Linked DNA regions of Homo sapiens: all the other regions are linked to region 2. Evidence: promoter capture Hi-C in 16 types of primary human blood cells and fetal thymus (Javierre and others, 2016). All regions are on one chromosome and are shown on one strand. The core of a region is centred on a gene start or on the middle of the fragment in contact, and the rest is flanking DNA. Distances in the headings are between cores, read along the strand shown. Region 1 has its middle 12 kb from the start of NBDY. Region 2 holds the start of ZXDB (zinc finger X-linked duplicated B). Region 3 overlaps NBDY (negative regulator of P-body association). Region 4 overlaps NBDY (negative regulator of P-body association). Region 5 overlaps NBDY (negative regulator of P-body association). Region 6 overlaps NBDY (negative regulator of P-body association).

Region 1 (3,600 bases), core at 1,096-3,595, 870 kb before region 2:
TTGAATAACCTGTTCCTCAATGACTTTTGAGTAAATAATGAAATTAAGGTAGAAATTAAGTTCTTTGAAACAATGAGACAAAGAAAATAGCATACCAGAATCTCTGGGACAAAGATAAAGCAGTGTTAAGAGTGAAATTTATAGCACAAAATGTCCTCATCGGAAAGTTAGAAAGATCTCAAATTACTAAGCTAACATCACAACTAAAAGAACCAGTGAACCAAGAGGAAACCAACCTCAGGGCTAGCAGAAGACAAGAAATAACCAAACTCAGAGCTGAAGAAGATTGAGACACGATAAATTAATCAAAAAATTGATCAATCCAGGAAGGTTTGTTTGGAAAAAAATAATAAGTAGACCACTAGCTAGACTATTAAAGAAGAAAAGAAAGAAAATCCAAATAAGCAAAATTAGAAATAAATAAGAAAATATAAACATTGACTGCACCGCAATAAAAACAACCATCAGAGAATACTATGAACACCTCTATGCACATAAACTGAAACATAGAAAAAAATAAGTTCCTGAACACATACACCCTCCCAAGACTGAACCAAGAAGAAATAGAATCCCTGAACAGAACAATAACAAGCTCTAAAATTAAATTAGTGATAAATAGTTTACCAACCAAAAACAGCTCAGAAACACATGAATTCACAGCTGAATTTTACCAGATGCACAAAGAAGAGCTGGTATCATTTCTGCTGAAACGGTTTTGAAAAATTGAGGAGGGACTCCTCCCTAACTCATTCTATGAGGCCACCATTATTCTGATACCAAAACATGGCAGACACACACAGACACCAAAACAAAAAAACAAACAAACAAACAAACAAACGCTTTAGGCCAATATCCTTGATGAACCTCAATGCAAAAATCCTCAATAAAGTATTCACAAACCAAATCCAGCAGCACATCAAAAAGATTATCCACCATGATATAGTAAACTTTATCCCTGGGATGGAAGGTTAGGTCAACATATCAACATACGCAAATCAATAAATATATTTCATCACATAAACAGAACTAAATTCAAAAACCACATGATTATCTCAATAGATGCAGAAAAGTATTTTAATGAAATTCAACACCCCTTCTTGTTAAAAAAAAAACCCTCAATAAGCTAGGTATTAAAGAAACGTACCTCAAAAATAAGAACCTTATATTACAAACCCACAGCCAAAATTATACCAAATGAGCAAAAGCTGGAAGCATTCTCCTTGAAAAGTGGCACAAGACAAGAATATCCTCTCTCAATCCTATTGAACACAAGTTTGAAAACCCTGGCCGGGGCAATCAGGCAAGATTATAAAATAAAGGGCATCCAAATAGAAATAGAGAAAGTCAAATTATGCCTGTTTCCAAATGACATGATTCTATATGTAGAAAATCTCATAGCCTTGACCCAAAAGTTTCTTCAGCTGATAAAGAACTTCAGCAAAGTCTCAGGATACAAAATGCATGTACACAAGTTACTACCATTTCTATACCTCAACAACAATCAGTCTGAGAACCAAATCAGGAATGCAGTCCCATTCACAATTGCCACAAAAAGAATATAATATCTAAAAACACAGCAATCCAGGGAAGTGAAAGATCTCTACAAGAGGAACTACAAAAGACTGCTGAAAGAAATAAAGGATGACACAAACAGATGGAGAAACATTCCATGCTCATGAATAGGAATAATTAATATCATTAAAATGGCCATACTGTCCAAAGCAATTTATAGATTCAATGCTATTCCTATTAAACTACCATTGACTTTTCTTCACAAAACTAGGGGAAAAAAGCTGTAGGCATCTCATTACCTGACTTCAAACTATTCTACAGGGCTACAGTAACCAAAAAAGCATGGTACTAGTACAAAAACAGACATATACACCAATGGAACAGAATAAAAAACCTAGAAATAAGACTGTACACCTACAACTATCTGATCTTTGACAAACCTGACAAAAACAAGCAATTGGGAAATGATTCCCTATTCAATAAATGGTGCTGGGATAACTGGCTAGCCATATGCAGAAGATGAAAACTGGAGCCCTTCCTAGTACCATATACAAAAATTAACTCCAGATGGATTAATGACTTAAATGTAAAACCTAAAACTATAAAAAACCTGGAAAACAACTGATATAGTTTGGCTGTGTCCCAGCCCAAATCTCATCTTAAATTGTAGCTCCCATAATTCTCACGTGTTGTGGGAAGAACCCAGTGGGAGATAATTGAGTCATGGGGGCAGTTTCCCCTATACTGTTCTGGTGGTAGTGAATAGGCCTCACAAGATCTGATGGTTTTATAAGGGGAAACCCCTTTCACTTGTTTTCATTTATCTCTTGCCTGCCACCATGTAAGACTTGCTTTTCACCTTCCACCATGATTGTGAGGCCTCCTGAGCCACGTTAAACTGTGAGTCTATTAAGCCTCTTTTTATTTATAAATTACTCAGTCTGGGGTATGTCTTTATCAGCAGCATGAGGACAGACTAATGCAACAACCTAAGCAATGCCATTCTGGAAATAGAAATGGGCAAAGATTTCATAACGAACATGACAAAAGCAATTGCAATAAAACAAAAATTGACAAATGGGATGTAATTAAACTAGAGAGATTCTGCACAGCAAAAGAAGCTATCAGCAAACAGATGACCTACAGAATGAGTGAACATTTTTGCAATCCGTGCTTCTGGCAAATGTCTTCTATCAAGTATCTCTAAAGAACTTAAACAAATTTACAAGGAAAAAAACAATCCCATTAAAAAGTGGGCAAAGGACAGGAACAAACACCATTCAAAAGAAGACATGCATGTGGCCAGCAAACATATTTTAAAAAGCTCAACAAAAGATTTATAAAAATGGCAGACAGAAGGGCGGACTAAATTGCAGCTCCCAGTTAGATGGACAGAGCAGCATGTGGAGACTCACATTGTAAACTTTTGCTCCAAGAACTACTGTGGGAATACCAGGAAAGCTGTGAGAATTAACAGACCCTTTGAAAGAAGCAGACTGCTTCTGCAATACTCAGAAGACAGCCCAAGTACTCTGAGTGCCCAAACTGTGAGAGTGGGAAACGGGAATTGTTTGCCCTTGAATACACACCCTCACTGGGGAACCTGAAGGTTCAGATAACAGAAGAAGGATTTGACCTTACCTGGAGCTGAGACAATCTGAAGAGCTGAGCAAAATACAAGGTTAGAGGAGGCAGCAGGAAAAGCCCTGTGGGCTCTCTGGGTACCCAGAGAAGCCATTTCTAACTTGTCTCACAGGGGTCCTTGGGGAGCACTGCCAGAGAAACTGGGAAAAAAAAACACAGAAAGAAGAAAATCTCCAGCTAGACTTTATGACAATTCCAACCAAATTCAGTTTCCTGGCCAGAACTTAGAAGAGGGCATGAATCGGTTGTGCAGACTTGACAGATGAGGAAGCACAAAAGCCCGGCTGAATGAAACAAGTTTTCAGCCTTCCTTGCCCACTGCCTAGAAACAAACTCAGTGCTGTGGAGGGTGGGGGGAACGGTGGGAGTGACACCAGCCTTTTGGGTTGTGTGGATCCTAGGTGACGCCTGTAACTGCCAGCTTTCCTCCACTTCCTGGACAAC
Region 2 (3,539 bases), core at 39-2,538:
AAATAGTTATGGATGAATAGCTTGATTTTCAAGAGACCAAGTGTCCACTGTCATTAAAAGAGGGCGAGAGAGCTGGGAGTATTTAAACAACAGGTTACACCCCGCTCCCCCACCACCACCAATCTAGTCATTACTCTAAGCTTTCTTATCTCAGATATTTCACCCTATATTTGTGTCAATTCCCAACTCAGTCGTAACGGACAAAATGAAGGATTGTCATCATCATTAATAAGATCATTAGGCACCACAGGCCCAGCAAGCCTGGGCCACCACACTTAAATGTGAACAGGTACACCAGGTTGATTGGACAAGATCGTCTGTGCCTTTTACTTGGCAGAATCCATTGCAGTGACTCAGGATTTAACCTAAACACATTTAACTGAAACTCCTGCCCAGAGACCTCCACGTGCTGGAGAAGGCAGAGTAAACTGAGGAATGAATGCCCTCATTGTGCTGTGAGAGCAGACATGAAATTTATCACAGTACAACCGATGGTGGAAGGGCAAAAGTTGGTTTAGGTTGTGCACTGTATAGGGAGAAGCCAGGAGAAGGTTGGGTTTTTTCCAGATTTCAGTGTAAATTGTTTCATCCTCCAGACTTTGAATTTCTAGGCTGAAGAGTGCTAACCTGTTTTGGCCGCATCTCTCACTCATTCTAATGTCTGTATCAGCAAGACAAAATTTGAACTATGCGGCAAATTGTACCGAAGACTTTGCTCAAGATAATTGTGAATATGGAAGTTGTCCCGCGGGGAGGTGGGAAGGGGAAGGACATTTTCAGCAGAACTGCCAGCGCTATGGTGGTTTAATGCTGACACAGAGACAGTTTTTTCTCTCAGGAATTGTCTTTCATCCATCAGTCCAGCCAGCCAGCCAGCCAGCAAATTTTAACACACAGAAAGTACGAAGCAACATATCTAACACTGGGAGGGGCTGGGGTGTGTTTATTTGGGTATATACAATGAGTCATGGATTAAAATTGCTTCCAGCGGATAGATACCTAGGTGTTCCACAGCATTACTGAACAAGCTGTCGTCATTTCCCCATTACCTCAGAAGACCCCCTTAATTACTTACTTATATTAACTGTAGAACGTATTTATGCATACCAGGCTCTACCTCTGGGCTTTCTATTCTGTTCCAGAGACCCAGTACCAGAATATTTAAATCACTGTGGCGTTAAATACGTTTTAATATCTGATAGGGCCAGTTTCTGCGCATTGCACATTTTTTTTTCCCCTTTCAGGAACGTGTTCAGGCCCGCGGCAGGGGGCGGGATCGCGCCTCCTCCTCGGCTCTGGTTCCAGCCGAGCCTCTCGGACGCAGAGATGGAAATCCCGAAGCTGCTCCCGGCTCGCGGGACACTACAGGGCGGCGGCGGCGGCGGTATCCCCGCGGGTGGCGGCCGAGTCCACCGAGGCCCTGACTCGCCGGCTGGCCAGGTCCCCACGCGCCGCCTCCTGCTGCTCCGGGGCCCCCAAGATGGCGGGCCCGGGCGGCGGCGCGAGGAGGCCAGCACGGCATCACGGGGCCCTGGCCCAAGCCTGTTGGCGCCGAGGACCGATCAACCTAGCGGCGGCGGCGGCGGCGGCGGCGACGACTTCTTCCTGGTGCTGCTTGACCCGGTGGGTGGCGACGTGGAGACCGCGGGCTCCGGTCAGGCCGCAGGGCCTGTGTTGAGGGAGGAGGCCGAGGAGGGCCCGGGGCTCCAGGGGGGCGAGAGCGGCGCGAATCCCGCGGGGCCCACTGCGCTAGGCCCCCGCTGCCTGTCCGCGGTTCCCACTCCGGCCCCGATCTCCGCCCCCGGCCCCGCCGCGGCCTTCGCGGGCACAGTCACTATCCACAACCAGGACCTGCTGTTGCGCTTTGAGAACGGCGTCCTCACCCTGGCCACGCCCCCACCACACGCCTGGGAGCCAGGGGCCGCTCCTGCCCAGCAGCCCGGGTGTCTGATCGCCCCGCAAGCTGGGTTCCCGCATGCCGCGCACCCGGGTGACTGCCCAGAGCTGCCGCCAGACCTCCTGCTAGCTGAGCCGGCCGAACCCGCGCCAGCTCCGGCGCCTGAGGAGGAGGCGGAGGGCCCGGCCGCCGCCCTGGGCCCCCGCGGACCGCTGGGCTCCGGCCCAGGCGTGGTGCTGTACTTGTGCCCCGAGGCGCAGTGCGGGCAAACCTTCGCCAAGAAGCACCAGCTGAAGGTGCACCTGCTGACGCACAGCAGCAGCCAGGGCCAGAGGCCCTTCAAATGCCCCCTGGGTGGCTGCGGCTGGACCTTCACCACCTCTTACAAGCTCAAGAGGCACCTGCAGTCGCACGACAAACTGCGGCCCTTTGGCTGCCCGGCAGAGGGCTGTGGCAAGAGCTTCACCACAGTGTACAACCTCAAGGCGCACATGAAGGGCCATGAGCAGGAGAACTCATTCAAATGCGAGGTGTGCGAGGAGAGCTTCCCCACGCAGGCCAAACTCAGCGCCCACCAGCGCAGCCACTTCGAACCGGAGAGGCCTTACCAGTGCGCGTTTTCTGGCTGCAAGAAGACATTTATCACAGTGAGTGCTCTGTTTTCCCATAACCGCGCCCATTTCAGGGAACAGGAACTGTTTTCCTGCTCTTTTCCTGGCTGCAGCAAACAATATGACAAGGCTTGTAGGCTGAAAATTCACCTGCGGAGTCACACCGGCGAGAGACCTTTCCTTTGTGACTTTGATGGCTGTGGCTGGAACTTCACTAGCATGTCCAAACTCTTAAGGCACAAAAGAAAGCACGACGATGACCGGAGGTTCATGTGCCCTGTGGAAGGCTGTGGGAAATCTTTCACGAGGGCGGAACATCTGAAAGGCCACAGCATAACCCACCTGGGCACAAAGCCTTTCGTGTGTCCTGTGGCAGGCTGCTGTGCCAGGTTCTCTGCTCGCAGTAGCCTCTACATTCACTCCAAGAAACACCTGCAGGATGTGGACACTTGGAAAAGCCGTTGCCCGATCTCCTCTTGTAATAAACTCTTCACATCCAAGCACAGCATGAAGACGCACATGGTTAAAAGGCATAAGGTGGGCCAGGATCTCTTAGCTCAGCTAGAAGCAGCAAATTCTCTCACACCCAGCAGTGAACTTACCAGCCAGAGACAGAATGATCTCAGTGATGCAGAGATAGTGTCTCTCTTCTCTGATGTACCTGACAGTACTTCTGCTGCATTGCTGGACACAGCATTGGTGAACTCTGGAATCTTGACTATTGATGTGGCTTCTGTGAGCTCGACTCTGGCAGGGCACCTCCCTGCTAATAATAATAATTCCGTAGGGCAGGCTGTGGACCCTCCGTCCTTGATGGCCACCAGCGACCCTCCTCAAAGTCTGGATACCTCTCTCTTTTTTGGAACGGCGGCCACTGGTTTTCAGCAGAGCTCCTTAAATATGGATGAGGTCTCAAGTGTAAGTGTGGGGCCATTGGGATCTCTGGACTCTTTGGCCATGAAAAACTCCAGTCCAGAGCCTCAGGCTTTGACACCCAGCAGTAAGCTAACAGTGGACACAGATGCTCTGAC
Region 3 (3,549 bases), core at 278-2,777, 850 kb before region 2:
AACCAATATATATATATCACAATATCACACATCGACAATTGACACTTGGGTAAATACAGGACACTTATTTCATAGATTGTCCTTTAATTTAAATTTGTGTGCCATTTCCCCATTATTCAGAGTACGCATATTAGCAAAAGCACCACAGAAGTAATGTATTGTTCTCAGGGCATCATAATGGTGGTACATGATGCTGGTTTGACCCTTTAGTAGTAAAGTTAACTTTGATTACTTGGTTAATGTGGTGAATAGTTGCTAGATTAATCCACTTTACAGTTATCATTTTCCTCTTTATAATTAATGATTTTGCTGGGGATACTTTGAGACTATGTAAATATCCTGTTCCTCATTAAATTATCATCCACTGGTTTTCAAATCCATTGATAATTCTTGACTGAATCAGATATTGCTATGATGAATGCAAAATGGTAATTTTCAAACTCCATCATTTTTAGTACATTTATTAGTTTATATTCTACATCAAGGTAGAGCTTTTTCTCCATTTATTTGTTTATTAATTACTTTGGACACATAGATTTTTACTTTATTTTAAAAATACCCTATTGTTATTATTTATTTTAATACCCAAATTGTCTCAGATTTAGTGACTGGCTGCCCATTCAAGTTGGCTCCCCTGTCTTTTGACATGTGTCATCATTCTTAAACACACTTTTTACTTACTTTAAAATTTTTTTACTTCCTTACTTTCAAGCTTGTCTTGTACTTCCTACCCCATTAATCATTTCTCTATAGACCTCTGTTATCTTTTATGGAGACAGTATTTAGAAACTAAGTCATTGTATATAGCTGTTTTTTAGCTTAACATTTTGTCATTGTTTTCCATTTAAAAGACAATATTGCTTATGTGATAATGATTATTTAGTGTTTGTTGAAACTTGCTTTATGTCCTAGAGAACATGATCAACTAGTGTTTTATGTGTGCCTGGAAAGATTGTGTATCTAATTTTTGCGTGTAGTGTTCTGTTCATTAAATTTAACTGTGTTGTTTAAATCTTCTCTATTCCTAAGTTTTTTGTTTGCTGGACCTATCAGTTACCAAGAGAGTTAAAATCTCCCACTGTATTTGTGTATTTGTCAAATTCTTACACTTTTGACAATTTTTGCTTTGTATACTTGAGGCATTGTTAGTATGTACATACAAGTCTAGAATAGATACATATTTTACAATTTTAGGAACTCTTTTTATCTTTTTGAATGTAAATTTTTTTTGTTTGCTGGGTCTTTTTAATTTTGTAAAATCTTTCTGGGTACCTAGTAGTTGTATACATTTATGGGGTATATGAGATGTTTTGATACATGCAAAGTGTAATAATCACATCATGTACAATGGGGTATCCATCATTTCAAGCATTTATCCTTTGTGTTACAGACAATTTAATTATACAGTTATATTATTATTGACTATAGTCACCCTGCTGTCCTATCAAATAATAGGTCTTATTCATTCTTTTTGTATACCCGTTAACCATCCCCACTCTCCCCCACCACCCATTACCCTTCCCAGCCTCTGGTAACCATCTTTCTACTCTCCATCTCCATGAGTTCAATTGTTTTGATTTTTAGATTCCACAAATAAGTGAGAACATGTGATGTTTGTCTTTCTGTGCCTGGCCCATTTCACTTAACATAATGATATCCAGTTCCATCCATGCTGTTGTAAATAACTAGATCTCATTCTTTTTTATGACTGATTAGTACTCCACTATGTATATATACCACATTTTCTTCGTTCATGTATCTGTTGATGAACCCTTAGGTTGCTTCTAAATCTTAGCTGTTGTAAGCAGTGCTGCAACAAACATGGGAGTGCAGATATCTCTTTGATAATACTGATTTCCTTTGTTTGGGGTATATACCCAGCAGTGGGATTGCTGGGTCATATGGTAGCTCAATTTTTAGTTTTTTGAGGAATCTTCAAATCGTTCTCCATTGTGGTTGTACTAATTTACATTCCCATCAACAGTGTACAAGCATTCCCTCTTCTCCGCATTCTTGCCAGCATTTGTTATTGCCTGTCACTTGGATATAAGCCATTTTAATTGAAGTGAGATAATATCCCATTGTAGTTTTGATTTGCATTTCCCTGATGATCAACTACAATGAGTACTTTTTCACATGCCTGTTTGCCATTTGTATATCTTCTTTTGAGAAAGGTCTATTCAAATCTTTGTCACAATTTTGATCAAATTATTAGATTTTTTCCTATTGAGTTGTTTGAGCTCCTTATATATTTTGGTTATTAATTTCTTGTCAAAAGTGTAGTTTGCAAATATTTTCTCCCATTGCACCTATACTTTATAGACTGTTTGCTTTGCTGTGCAGAAGCTTTTTACTTGATGTGATCCCATTTGTTCATATTTGCTTTGATTGCCTTTGCTTGTGGGGTATTAATTAAGAAATTTTTGCCCAGATCAATGTCCTGGAGATTTTTCCCATATTTTCTTGTTGTAGTTTCATAGTTTGAGGTCTTTGACTTAAGTCTTTAATACATTTTGATTTGATTTTTGTGTATGGCAAAAGATAGCTATCTAGTTTCATTCTTCTGCATATGGATATCCAGTTTTCCCAGCACCAATTATTGAAGAGACTGTCTTTTCCATAGTGTATGTTCTTGGCACCTTTGTGGAAAATGAGTTTGTTAGGTGTGTGGATTTGTTTCTGGGTTCTCAGTTATCTTTCATTGGTCTATGTGTCTGTTTTTGTGACAATACCATGCTGTTTTGATTACTGTAGTTCTGTAGTATAATTTGAAGTCAGGTAATATGATTCCTCCAGTTTTGTTCTTTTTGCTTAGGATAGCTTTGGTTATTCTGGGTCTTTTGTGGCTCCATATAAATTTTAGGATTGTTTTTTCTATTTCTGTGAAGAATGTTTTTTGTATTTTTATAAGTATTGCATTGAACCTGTAGATTGCTTTTTGTGGCATGGACGTTTTAACAATATTGATTCTTTCAATTCATGAACATGGACTATCTTTCCATTTTTTGGTGTCCTCTTCAATTTCTTTCATCAGTGTTCTACAGTTTTTATTAAAGAGATCTCCCACTTCTTTGGTTGAGTTAATTGCTAGGTATTTAATTTTATGTTTGGCCATTGTAAGTGGAATTACTTTTAAATTTCTTTTTCAGATTGCCCAATGTTGGCATGTGGAAATGCTACTGATTTTCGTATGTTGATTTTGTATCCTGCAACTTTACTGAATTTATCAGTTCTTATAGTTTTTGTGGAATCTTTATGCTTTTCCAAACACAAGATCAAATCCTCTGCAAACAACGGTAATTTGACTTCTTCCTTTCCAATTTGGATGCCCTTAATTTCTTTCTCTTGTCTGATTGCTCTAACTAGGACTTGCAGTACTATGTTGAATAACAGTGGTGACAATGGGCGTCCTTGTCATGTTTCAGATCTTAGAGGAAAAGCTTTCAGTTTTTCCCTATTTGGTATGATACTAGCTGTGGGTCTGTTATATATGGGTTTTATTATGTTGAGGTATGTTCCTTCTATACCCATTTTTGAAGGTTTTTATCA
Region 4 (3,458 bases), core at 341-2,840, 810 kb before region 2:
ACTTAGTTGCCAGGCATCTTGGTCCTTGTACCCAAGTGCATGGGTAGCCAGGGCCCAGCCTGCCCCACTTCGCCTGGACCCCGTCTGATTTCCTGTGCTGCGTGTGGAGGTGGAGGTTGAGCCTTGAGTATTTTGGGGGAGAAGGGGCTCGGGCGGGGGGCTGTGTTTTGGTTTGGTAGAGGGCTCACTGGGCTCTCGAGCTAAACCCTGGTGCTTGCCGGATATTCAGCCCAGAAAATGCATGAGACCGTCAAGGACAAATTATGCCGCCCATAATTAGGGTCTCCAGGCAGACATAAGAAAGCCTGATGCGGGACATCATACAGTGCCCATGTTGGGATGCGAAGCCGCGACCGCCTTGCTCTAAAGGTTGCATAGGCTACTCATGCCGCTGGGTGCCTGGACAGCAGCATGGAACACAACGCTCCCCGAATATTGCAAATGTTTTCTGTCTTGGCTTGTTACAAATCTTCCTGGATGTGTAGGCCACCCTGGGGACGAGCAGCCCTTCTTAGGGCAGAAAATTCACCCCACGGGTGATGATTCCCACGCTGGGGGTGTGTGAACCACTCTCACAAGGAGGAATGTCAATCTCGTGAGCGGGCCTGCACTCTCACGGCATTCCGGGCAGAAGAACCACATGACCATGGAACAGGAGTCACCCCCTTTCTGTCACTTGTCAACAAATGCGGATTTTTTTTTTTTTTTTTTTTTTTTTTCCTCATATGTAGGTAGCATGCACCAGGGTGCGCCTCTGGCGGTGCCTAGGGAGAACGCGAGAAGAAAAGAATGCAGGAAGATCTGGACTGCGTCTTTAGGGTTGGCACTGGGACTGTGAGTGTCAGAGGTCCTCGGTTTTAACTTTTAACTCCCATCACATCTCAACTGTTTCCTTGTCAACAAATGTGTGTCCTTTTCTCATAAGTGTATACCATCCACCTCGGGGCCCCTCCTTTTGTGCCTTGGGACATCGGGTGAAGTAAGGAACGCAGGAACTTTGGTGTTGTTAGTTTTAGTGTCAGAGGTTCTTGTTTTTACCTTTGAACATCAATCACGTCTGAACTATATCCTGTCTTCATCTGTGGTTGCATAGGTCCTCAGGCACATACAAGTATCTTCTCCAGTAATGACAAGCTTCTGCCTAGACACCTTCATTCACAACTGTTTCCCGTCATCTAAGCAACCCTCAGGAGGTAGTTGTTAAGCTTTCACGTTCCCTCCTGTTCATTTTTCTTATTGCTTTCTCTCTGCCTTCCCAATATTTGCTGATGGAGTGTGCGGGATGGGGTTGAGGTGTGGGCAGCAGGGAACAGGGCAGTCTCCTGGCCCAACAGATCTTTGTGCAGACGCGGTACAGACCCGGGATTTAGGGGCTTATGCTTTCTTCTGGCTGGCGCCTTATCCTGTGTGAGGACACAGGAGGCTACTCACAGGGCTGTCAGCTTTCCATATGATGAACTCTGCTTTCCAGTTTACTCTGTAACTCATTGCTCACTCTGATTCTTTGTGTACTTTTGGAGTTTTCCTCCCTTCACTTTTTTCTTCTTCACTGTCTTTACTTTTCGTCCGCTTCTGTTTATGGAGGTCACAATCAGCCAAGAAGGCAGGGTCAGTTATGCACGGGGACATGGTTAAGGAAAACAGGCTTACTGTTTCTAAGGAAATTAGAAGGACTCCAGCTGAACCCTGCGAGGAGAAGTTGGCATTTCCTTATTCTTTCTGCCGTGTCTCCATATTGCCATGGGTGGCTGATTACCTCTTTTCCCTGGTGTCCGATTCCTCCCCGTTTTTCATCTTTTTCTTTTGGGTGGTTCTTCACTGCCTTGGTTTTGTAGACTTTGGGCTTGGTGGCCCCTTGCAGTCAGCTGATGACATCCTCAGGGTAAGGTTCAGCCTACACTTGTGTACTCTGTAGTTCTGCAGGCCAATTTGTGGATCAAAGTTTTGATCCCACTCAGGAAAGATCCCATCGACAAGAAGCTTCTCGTTTGTATGTCCTTTAAACGGGAGGTGACCTGGGGCTCCTTGTCACTCATTGTGTATGTCACCACACACTGAGGTCTTCCTTAACTAGATCCTTCAGGACAGCTACAGTGGCATGGACCTCCCACTTTCTGTTCTTGTTCTCTTTCTGGTTATTCTTCCTCTTCCTCCTCCTACTCTTTTAATTCCTCTTCTCTTTTTTGTTTTCTTACTCTTCCTCCTCCATCTTCTCCTCCTCCTCCTCCTTCTTCTTTCCTTCTCCTCTTCTTTTGCCTCTTCTTCTTTTTTGTCTTTTGCTTTTGCCTCTGCTTCTCTTTTTCCCTTCACTTTCAGATCAGGACAGACAAGTGTTCTAGGAGACTGCTTCTTCTTTTGCTCCTTGGTGATTCAGCATGTCTCTCTGCAGTACTAGGCCTAGAGAAAGCTTCACTTTTGTTCTTAATTTAGCACTGATGAAGGTCACCAGTTTAGTCTCTCTGGTATACCAAAAACCTTCCCACATGTTGCTTTTAAGTGAAATGTCATGGTGAACAGATCCTTTACCCAGTTCCTCATGGCTTGCTGTTATTTCCTGTTCTGTTCGTGGATGCACTAGGTGTGTAATCCTGAGCCATTAGGAAGTTTGGCAAGTTGTCCCGTGTCTCCTTTTTTTTCAGTCCAGCCATGTGAACACATTGATCCGGATTTCAGTTTTTGCAGGGTGTCTCCGCCACATGCCCATTTGCCCACTCTCACTCACAGAGGCAGGCACCCACAGACCACAGACACAGACACAATACATACACTCACAAGGGACCCCCCAATCAGAAATTAAATCACAAACACACACGCACATGGAGACTCATGCACACACAGACACAAACACACACATTAAACACGCCTAAGCGGACACACACACAGATACACACAGACACACACACACACACAGAAGTAAGCTCACACTAGTACAAATGTGCGGGTTTAAGCATTATCGTACACAGACACACACAACACCTCAGGCACGAAACTGCCCACAATGTCTTCCACTCGGGCTGTAAATGGGGCTGTAAATGGTGGCGTGTGGCCCTCAAACTGAGGCGGGACAAGAGAGGAACTCCTTGCTGGCTCTTGGCCTGCCCTCATTCCTAGGATGGCGGCCTGTCTCCACAGCTGTATGTAAGAAAGGGCAGTCGGGGCGGCCAGCCATGGCTTCCCCTGGCAGTCTCCAGAAACTGCCGGGCATGAGTCGCCCAACACTCAACACGCCGAAGCTCCTTTGTTTCCTGGGTGGATAGGGGCTTTCTTGCCCCACTGTGGCCCCAGCCAAGGGCATCCCAGAACTGCCCACAAAAGAGACCAGATTAAACGGCCCCATTTTCTGGCTGTCAGTGGCCAGTGGCTTCCCTTATGCGTATCTCAAAATGGCTGCTGGTGCAGCTCCACTCTGTGGGCTGACGGGTCTTCAGGCTGCCTGGCTGATCTGTCTCGGGGCCTCT
Region 5 (3,991 bases), core at 1,133-3,632, 770 kb before region 2:
TCCTATGTAAAGCATTACTAAAATTAGTGTTGAAATATGACCTTCTTCCTACATTTATTCATTTATTTATGTCTATTTATTCATTTATTTTAGTGAAAAATATAAGGAAAGTAGAGGAAGGTTAAATCCAAAAAAGAATTGTTTCCAGTACACTTTCTTTAATTTGCTGTCAGTTTTTGCATGGAATCTACATCTTTTTATGCTAATCCTCATCCTAGTATTTTACATCTTAACTATTTTTTTCTGACTGAAATGGTTGATGTGCTTGTTTTTTGTAATTTTCTACTTTCCTTCTAAAATGCTTAGTATTGAACAAATAGAATATCCTAATTAAAAACAGTAATAAATATTATGGTGAAAAAATACAAGTAAAATGGGAAAACATTAGATAGCAGCTTTCAATATTTCATATAGTTCATAAATGTTTCAGGAATTACAAGGTTATAGAAAAAAATTTATAGACTATAATAATTTCCAGGGATATAAAAAAATAAAGCTTCTACCTTTGAATTGTAATAATAAAAGATAAACAGACTTGAAAGCATATATTATATCTGAAAATGTCAGATAAACTTGGCTTATAAATTAAAATATAAAATAATAATACAATTTGTTCAAATAAGTAATTAAAGCTTACATTGTAAAATGAATATTTAGAGAGATTGTGAAACCTGAGTATTTTACCCAATCCTCTGAAATTAGTCCCTAGCATCAGAATTAAAGAATCTGAAAAATCACAAATGGAGGTATGGTGACATTTATGTATATTCTAGAGTTATGTTATGCACACTTAATAAATTATAGACAGTTATTTTAAAGATTGTATAATATTACTAATCACACATTAGAGTTTTAAAACTTCTGAGCCAGGCTGAACATCACAAACAGTAAACACAGACTTCTTTAAAAGGACATCTGGTGAAAGGCATTTTATGCATCAGAAGGCACAGTATTATAAAGATGACAACACTCTTCAAAATAATCAAACTATTCAATGCAACCCTTATCAAAATTAAGGTTGCCTACTTTGAAGAAATTTATAACCTGATTCTAAAGTTCATATGAAAATGTAATGGACCCAGAATAGCCAAAACAATCTTGAAGTATACAAAGTTTGAAGAGTCACATTTCCAAATTTTAAAACTTATTACAAAGCTACAATAAACAAGTCTATGTGGTACTGGCATAGGATATAAATATTGATCAATGAAATAGAATCCAAAGTCCAGACATAAGCCCTCACAAAAGTTAATTTGCAGCCAATTAACTTCTGAGAAGGAGGCAAGACAAAAGGGGAAATAACTATTTTCAATAAATGGTACTGGGACAACTTGGTATCTACATGCAAAAAAAAAACAAAAAAACAAAAAACTTCCACCCCTACCTCATGCAAAATACAAAAATTAACTCAAAATAGGCCAAAGACTCAAATATAAGGGTTACACTATAAAACTCTTGGGAGGAAATATAGAATAAATTTTTGTGACCTTGAATTAAGTATTAGATTTTTAATTCTTACACCAAAGCACAAGTTAATAAAGGAAAAAAAAGATAAACTGGACATAATTAAAATTGAAAAAAAATTTGCTTCAGTGAACACAGTCAAGAAATTTGAAAGACAGCCACAGTGCAAGATTATTTTTGCAAATAATATGTCTCATAAATGACTTGTATCTAAAATATATAAGACCAGGCATGGTGGCTCATCCTGTAATCCCAGCACTTTGGGAGGCTGAGGCAGGGGGATCACTTGAGGTCAGGAGTTTGACACCAGCCTGGCCAACATGATGAAACCCCATCTTTACTAAAAATACACACACAAAAAAAATTAGCAGGGTGTGGTGGTGTATGCCTGTAATCTTAGCTACTCAGGAGGCTGAGGTGGGAGGATAGCTTGAACCTGGGAGGCAGAGGTTGCAGTGAGCCAAAATTGCACCAATGCACACTCCAGCCTAAGCAACAGGGCAAGACGCCATCTCAAAAAATAAAACAAAATAATAAAATAAAATAAACAGTAATTACCGCTAAATAATAAAACAAACAATAAACCAATTTTATAACGAAAGGATCTGAATAGATTCTTCTGTAAAGAAGACATACAAATCACAAATTACACATGAGAAGATGCTCAACACTATTAGTCATCAGGGAAATGCAAATCAAAATCACAAAGAGACAGCAATTTATACCCAGTAGGATACTTATTATTATTATTATTTTAAATAGCAAAATAATAAATGTTAGAATGTGGGAAAACAGGAACATGCGGCATTGTTGCTGGTAATGATAAATGTGCAGCCACTGGGCAAACAATTTTGTGGTTCCTCTCTAAGTTAAAAATAATGGCTGGGCGTGGTGGCTCACACCTGTAATCCCAGCACTTTGGGAGGCTGAGGTGGATGGATCACCTGAGGTCAGGAATTCGAGACTAGCCTGACCAACATGGTGAAACCCCATCTCTACTAAAAAATATAAAAAATTAGCCCAGCTACTCAGGAGGCTGACGCAGGAGAATCCCTTGAACCTGGGAGGCAGAGGTTGCAGTGAGCCGAGATCCCACCACTGCACTCCAGCCTGGGCATGACAGAGCAAGACTCCATCTCAAAAAAAAGAAAAAAAAAAGAAATAACATGCTACCCAGCAATTTTACTCCTGATACATAGCCAAAATAACTAAAAAACAGGTGTTCAAACAAAAATTGTACAGGACGGTTTACAGCAGAAATATTTGTACTAGGAAAATGTGGAAACAACTCAAATGCCCATCAACTGGTGAATGGAAAACAAAATGTATATTCACACAATGGAATATTAATTTAGTCATATACAGGAAATAAGTATACATACTGCCAGAATAAACCTTGAAAGCATTATGCCAAAAAAAAAAAAAAGGAAAATAATTCTTGCCTGGTGGTCTGGGAAAAGCAAAAGCATTATGCTATGTGAAAAAAGCCAGTCACACAGTACCATATATTATATAATTTCATATAAATAAAATGTCCACATGAGGCAAGTCTATAGGTTCAGAAAAAATATTTGCTTAAGGATGGAGTTTCCCTTAAGTTATGATTGAGAATTGATGTCTAAGGACTGTGTGATTTTATTCAGGGTTAATGAAAATGCATAAGAATTGACTGTAGTGATATTTACACATATCTATGCTTATCTATAAATATCCAAAACCATTGAATTGTACACTTTAAATCACGGATTGTATTATATGTGCATATCTCAAGTTGTTTAAAACAATAGATGTCTGGCTAGCACCTCCCAAGGCAGCCTCTCCCAACTTTTATTTTATTTTTTTGAGACGGAGTTTCACTCTTGTTGCCCAGGCTGGAGTGCAATAGTGCAATCTTGGCTCACTGTAACCTCCACCTCCCAGGTTCAAGGAATTCTCCTGCCTCAGCCTCCCGAGTAGCTGGGATTACAGGCATGCACCACCACACCCAGCTAATTTTGTATTTTTGGTAGAGACAGGGTTTCTCCATGTTGAGGCTGGTCTCGAACTCCTGACCTCAGGTGATCCGCCCGCCCCTTGGCCTCCGAAAGTGCCGGGATTACAGGCGTGAACCACCATGCCTGGCCAGCCTCTCCCAACTTATTAAATTCCTATGCAGCAAGATGGCAAAATGGAATTCTTCAGCACTCATAACCTTGCAGAAGTATCCATTTGAACAACTATTCATGCGCAAAATTACCTTTACAAGGCCTAAAGAAACCAAGTGAGAGATTACAGCACCTGGGTGTAGCAAATAAAGAAAGATGCATTTAAGAGTGGAGAAAGGGCAGATCATTTGAGGTCAGGAGTTTGAGACCAGCCTGGCCAACATGATGAAACCCTGTTTCTACTAAAAATACAAAAATTAGCCGGATGTGGCAGCAGGCACTTGTAATCCCAGCTACTTGGGAGGCTGAGGCAGGAGATTCGCTTGAATCTGGGAGGCGGAGTTTGCAGTGAGACAAGATTGCGCCACGCACTCCAGCCTGAG
Region 6 (3,566 bases), core at 387-2,886, 830 kb before region 2:
ACGAATAGGAAAAATAATGTGCAAGATTTAGTAAATAAATATAGGAAAACTAAAATGGCCAGGCACAGTTGCTCACTCCTGTAATCTCAATGTTTTGGGAGGGCAAGCTGGGCGGATCACTTGAGGTCAGGAGTTTGAGACTAGGCTGTCCAACATGGTGAAACCCTGTCTCTACAAAAAATTAGCGGACTTGGTGGTGCATGCCTATAATCCCAGTGAATCTGGAGGCTGAGGCATGAGAATCACTTGAACCAGGAGGCGGGGGTTGTAGTGAGCCGAGATTGCGCCACTCCACTCCACCATGGGTGACAAAGTGAGACTCTCCCTGAAAAAAAGAAAAGAAAAGAAAAGAAAATGACCCTAGACACATTTTAGTATTTACATAATGTAAATTATTTAACACAACAGTACTGATTAAACTGTAATAACAACGATAAATAATATTGACTGGCTTTTGATAAGTATAATTCTCAAATATGATCAGAATTAGAATATATTGCTAAAGAACTTTAGGAAGGTGTTAATTGAAAATTCTAATTGTGAGAATTCAGTGTCCACAAGAGACATGTTCTATTTCATAATACATTAATATATTTCCTTATATTAGATTTTTCTGAAGGTTTGTAGAAGTGCATCTTGTACTCTGCAGAGGAATAGGATGACAAATGAACTCAGGGTTAATTGGAATAATTTTAAAATGCACGTTGATTAAATAAGAAGGCAGCATTGATTTCACAGCAACTATATATAACTATTCATTGTGGTTTCATAAACAACAAAAATTGTAACCACTAAACACACTAATTCTGGGCATCCCTTCCTTCGCTTCGTGCACCATCAATTCAGTGGCCCTTTGCAGTGAGCACTTGACATCCGAAAAACAAAAGAAAACCTAAAAAACAAAATGAGGAACCAACTAAGGTACACCCTTCTCACTTCAGCAGGGCTCCCCCCACTTGACCACATTGGGGAAACCTGCAAAAGTAGGAGGATTCTCTGCTTCCATCATTCCTTCTAGATTATTCTCTCGGAAAGGGAAAAAGAAGAGAAGAGAAGGGAAAGAGAAGGGAACGGGAGGGGAGGGGAGGAGAAAGGGAGCGGGGAAGGGAAGGTTTGTCTTCAAAAAATCCAACCATTGGGGCTGTAGCATGGTGGGGGGAGCTTGTAGGAAGGAAGGAAGGAATGCTTGTCTTCAAAAAATACAACCACTGGGGCTGTAGTATGGTGAGGGGAGCTTGTATTTCCGGGAAACAGGGGAGGTGTGTGTGGGTATTGGAGGAGGGTGGCTACAGAATCCTCTATGAACCTGCTCAGGTCTCATAAACAGGAAAACAAGCCACTTGCTTGTGTGCACCACACTTGTCCCTAGGCAGCACACTCCCTCCTGGGAAAGAGATCAAAGTTTGGATTAAAAGCAGCCAGGTCCGCTAGGCATGGTGGCCCACACCTGTAATCTCAGCACTTTGGGAGGCCAAGGTGGGCAGATTGCTTGAGGCCAGGAATTTGAGACCAGCCTGGCAAATATGGTGAAACCCTATCTCTACTAAAATTACAAAAATTAGCATGTAATCTCAGCTACTTTGGGAGGCTAAGGCAAGAGAATTGCTTGAACTCAGGAGACAGAGGTTTCAGGGAGCCGAGATTGTGCCACTGCACTCCAGCCTGTGTGACAGAGTGAGACTCTGTCTCGAAAAAAAAAAAAAAAAAGAAAGAAAAAAAGAAAGGCAGCCAGGTCCAACAGGCATCTGCACATTGTTGACCCATCCAGCAGAACAGGGTCGAGAAAGGCATCTGTCGGGATGGGGCAGGACAGGACGAGACAGACTATTGTCTGAGGCATTTGGCTACCTCTCTGACTGGAACCCAGGCACTCATATGTGCCCAGGAATGGGTGGGATATTCCGGATGGGTTCCACAGGTGGCTCTCCTAGAGAGACCCACTTGGCATATTTGATGATGGAGCATGCAGGCTCCCTGGAACGTGATGGCTCACTAGTTAGTACCCCCGGCATCTTGGTCATTCTGCTGAAGTGCATGGGTAGCCAGGCCCCCGGCAGTGCTCAGTTTCTCCTGGGCCCCTCTGTGTTCCTGTGGTGGGTGTGGAAGTGGAGGTTGAGGCTAGAGTGTCTTTGAGGGTGGTGGGGCAGCTGTGCCTTGATTTGATACAGAGCTCTCTGGGCTCCTCAAGCTAAACTCTGGTGCTTGCCAGATACTCAGCTCAGATAATGAATGAGACGGTGGAGGACAAATTATTTTGCCCCTTTAGGGTCTCCAGGCAGACATGCAAAAGCCTGGTGCAGGGCCTTCATACAGAGCCCATGTTGGGTGCAAAGCCATGACCCCGTTGCTCTAAAGGTTGCATGTCCTACCCATACCGCTTGGTACCTGGAGAGCAGCATGGAACACAATGCTCTCAGAATATTGAAAAGGTTTTCTGTGTCTCCACTGAGGGATACTCCTGCCTCAGGCCCTGTGGCTGCCTATTGAGCCATCAGCCCATTCTGGTGACCTGCATGTGCCAGGACAATGTGGTAATCTCAACCAGGAGCTCCAGGTTTACATAGGCCCCCAGTCCTTGGGTAAATCCTTGTGTAAGCCAGCTGGGTGGCTCCCACTTTCTCCTGGAATGGCAGCCCTATGATCCCAGTCCACCTGTGGTGTCCCAGTGGCCATGATTATGTGTCCTTTGTCATTACTTTCTGCACTAGAAGCAGCCACAAAACCTGGAGAGGGCCAAAGGAAGGGCAAAGGCTGGATGCCGAAACAGGATTCCCACAGGGTCTCCAGCCTACCAGGCCTTGGTCATTGGGACCCCTGAGTTTGGTGGTCAACCTGGGACCTAGTGGCTGTTTTCTTTTTCTCCCCACTTTTTCTCTTTCTCCTTCCTATTTTTTTTTTTCACATGGGAAAAGGCGGAGGACCTCGGGGTGGAGGAGCAGGGTTACAGTTATAGTTAGTGTTTGTGGAGCCCTACTGCCATCAAGCAGAAACAGTTTCTGGCACTGGGATACAGCTGAGCACCAGTGCTGGGGAAAGCCCAGGAGTGCTAAACAGATGGCGACAAGCCGTCCACAGGCTGAAGCAGGAGGAGAGAGGAACTCCTGACTGGCCCTTGGCCTGTGCTTATTCCCAGGATGGCGCCTTGGCTCCACAGCTCTCTCTGAAAGAAAGGGCAGGCAGGGGCACCCCACCATGGGCTCCCCTGGCAGTCTCCAGGGACTTCCAAGCATGAATCGCCCCGCCCCCAGCACCCCGAAGTTCCTTTGTTCCCAGGGAGAATAAGAACCCCTTGGCCCCAGCTTGGACCCAGCCAATGGCACCTTGGAACTCCCCACAAAGGAGACCAGAGTAAACAGCCCCAGTCTCGACCATCAGTGCCCAGTGGCTTCCCTTATGCCCATCACAAGACAGGGTGTCTCTGCCCACTGGGTAGACTGGTCTTGAGGCTGCCGGGTTGTTCTGTCCCAGGGCCTCTAGAGTTGCTGCTTCTCCATGAGGTCCCAATGGCAGGTACACTTCCTTCAAGGGCTTTGAACCCCGGTGGGGGGAAACCCTGCCTTGGGCTG

What was found. Contacts are between HindIII fragments. The CHiCAGO score rates a contact against its expected background, and 5 or more counts as called.
Region 1: a fragment that was not itself captured here is called in contact with the fragment with the promoter of ZXDB in region 2 in 1 of 17 cell types (monocytes); the score reaches 5.2 in monocytes.
Region 3: a fragment that was not itself captured here is called in contact with the fragment with the promoter of ZXDB in region 2 in 4 of 17 cell types (M0 macrophages, total CD8 T cells, fetal thymus and 1 more); the score reaches 9.3 in M0 macrophages.
Region 4: a contact is called between a fragment that was not itself captured here and the fragment with the promoter of ZXDB in region 2, in 8 of 17 cell types (M0 macrophages, total CD4 T cells, activated CD4 T cells and 5 more). The highest score is 8.9, in M0 macrophages.
Region 5: a fragment that was not itself captured here is called in contact with the fragment with the promoter of ZXDB in region 2 in 7 of 17 cell types (erythroblasts, total CD4 T cells, total B cells and 4 more); the score reaches 9.2 in erythroblasts.
Region 6: a fragment that was not itself captured here is called in contact with the fragment with the promoter of ZXDB in region 2 in 9 of 17 cell types (monocytes, total B cells, total CD8 T cells and 6 more); the score reaches 12.1 in monocytes.

What each region holds. Positions count from the first base shown.
Region 1 is chrX:56,715,741-56,719,340 of GRCh38, forward strand. No RefSeq gene overlaps it. Among named protein-coding and RNA genes, the nearest start is that of NBDY, 12 kb to the right of the region's middle. The HindIII fragment of the contact is 5,458 bases long and covers 1-3,600 here.
Region 2 is chrX:57,590,723-57,594,261 of GRCh38, forward strand. ZXDB (zinc finger X-linked duplicated B) reads left to right here and starts at 1,289. Exons shown (of 1, transcript NM_007157.4): 1 at 1,289-3,539. The coding sequence starts at 1,327. RefSeq lists silencers at 1,627-1,916, 1,977-2,166. The HindIII fragment of the contact is 4,972 bases long and covers 139-3,539 here.
Region 3 is chrX:56,739,479-56,743,027 of GRCh38, forward strand. All of the region lies in intron 2 of NBDY (negative regulator of P-body association), which reads left to right. Among named protein-coding and RNA genes, the nearest start is that of NBDY, 12 kb to the left of the region's middle. The HindIII fragment of the contact is 1,634 bases long and covers 711-2,344 here.
Region 4 is chrX:56,780,090-56,783,547 of GRCh38, forward strand. All of the region lies in intron 2 of NBDY (negative regulator of P-body association), which reads left to right. Among named protein-coding and RNA genes, the nearest start is that of NBDY, 53 kb to the left of the region's middle. RefSeq lists enhancers at 2,481-2,620, 3,280-3,359. The HindIII fragment of the contact is 775 bases long and covers 1,204-1,978 here.
Region 5 is chrX:56,817,640-56,821,630 of GRCh38, forward strand. NBDY (negative regulator of P-body association) reads left to right here. Exons shown (of 3, transcript NM_001348129.2): 3 at 1-1,540. Among named protein-coding and RNA genes, the nearest start is that of NBDY, 90 kb to the left of the region's middle. RefSeq lists a silencer at 2,517-2,811. The HindIII fragment of the contact is 3,504 bases long and covers 631-3,991 here.
Region 6 is chrX:56,756,627-56,760,192 of GRCh38, forward strand. All of the region lies in intron 2 of NBDY (negative regulator of P-body association), which reads left to right. Among named protein-coding and RNA genes, the nearest start is that of NBDY, 29 kb to the left of the region's middle. The HindIII fragment of the contact is 7,558 bases long and covers 1-3,566 here.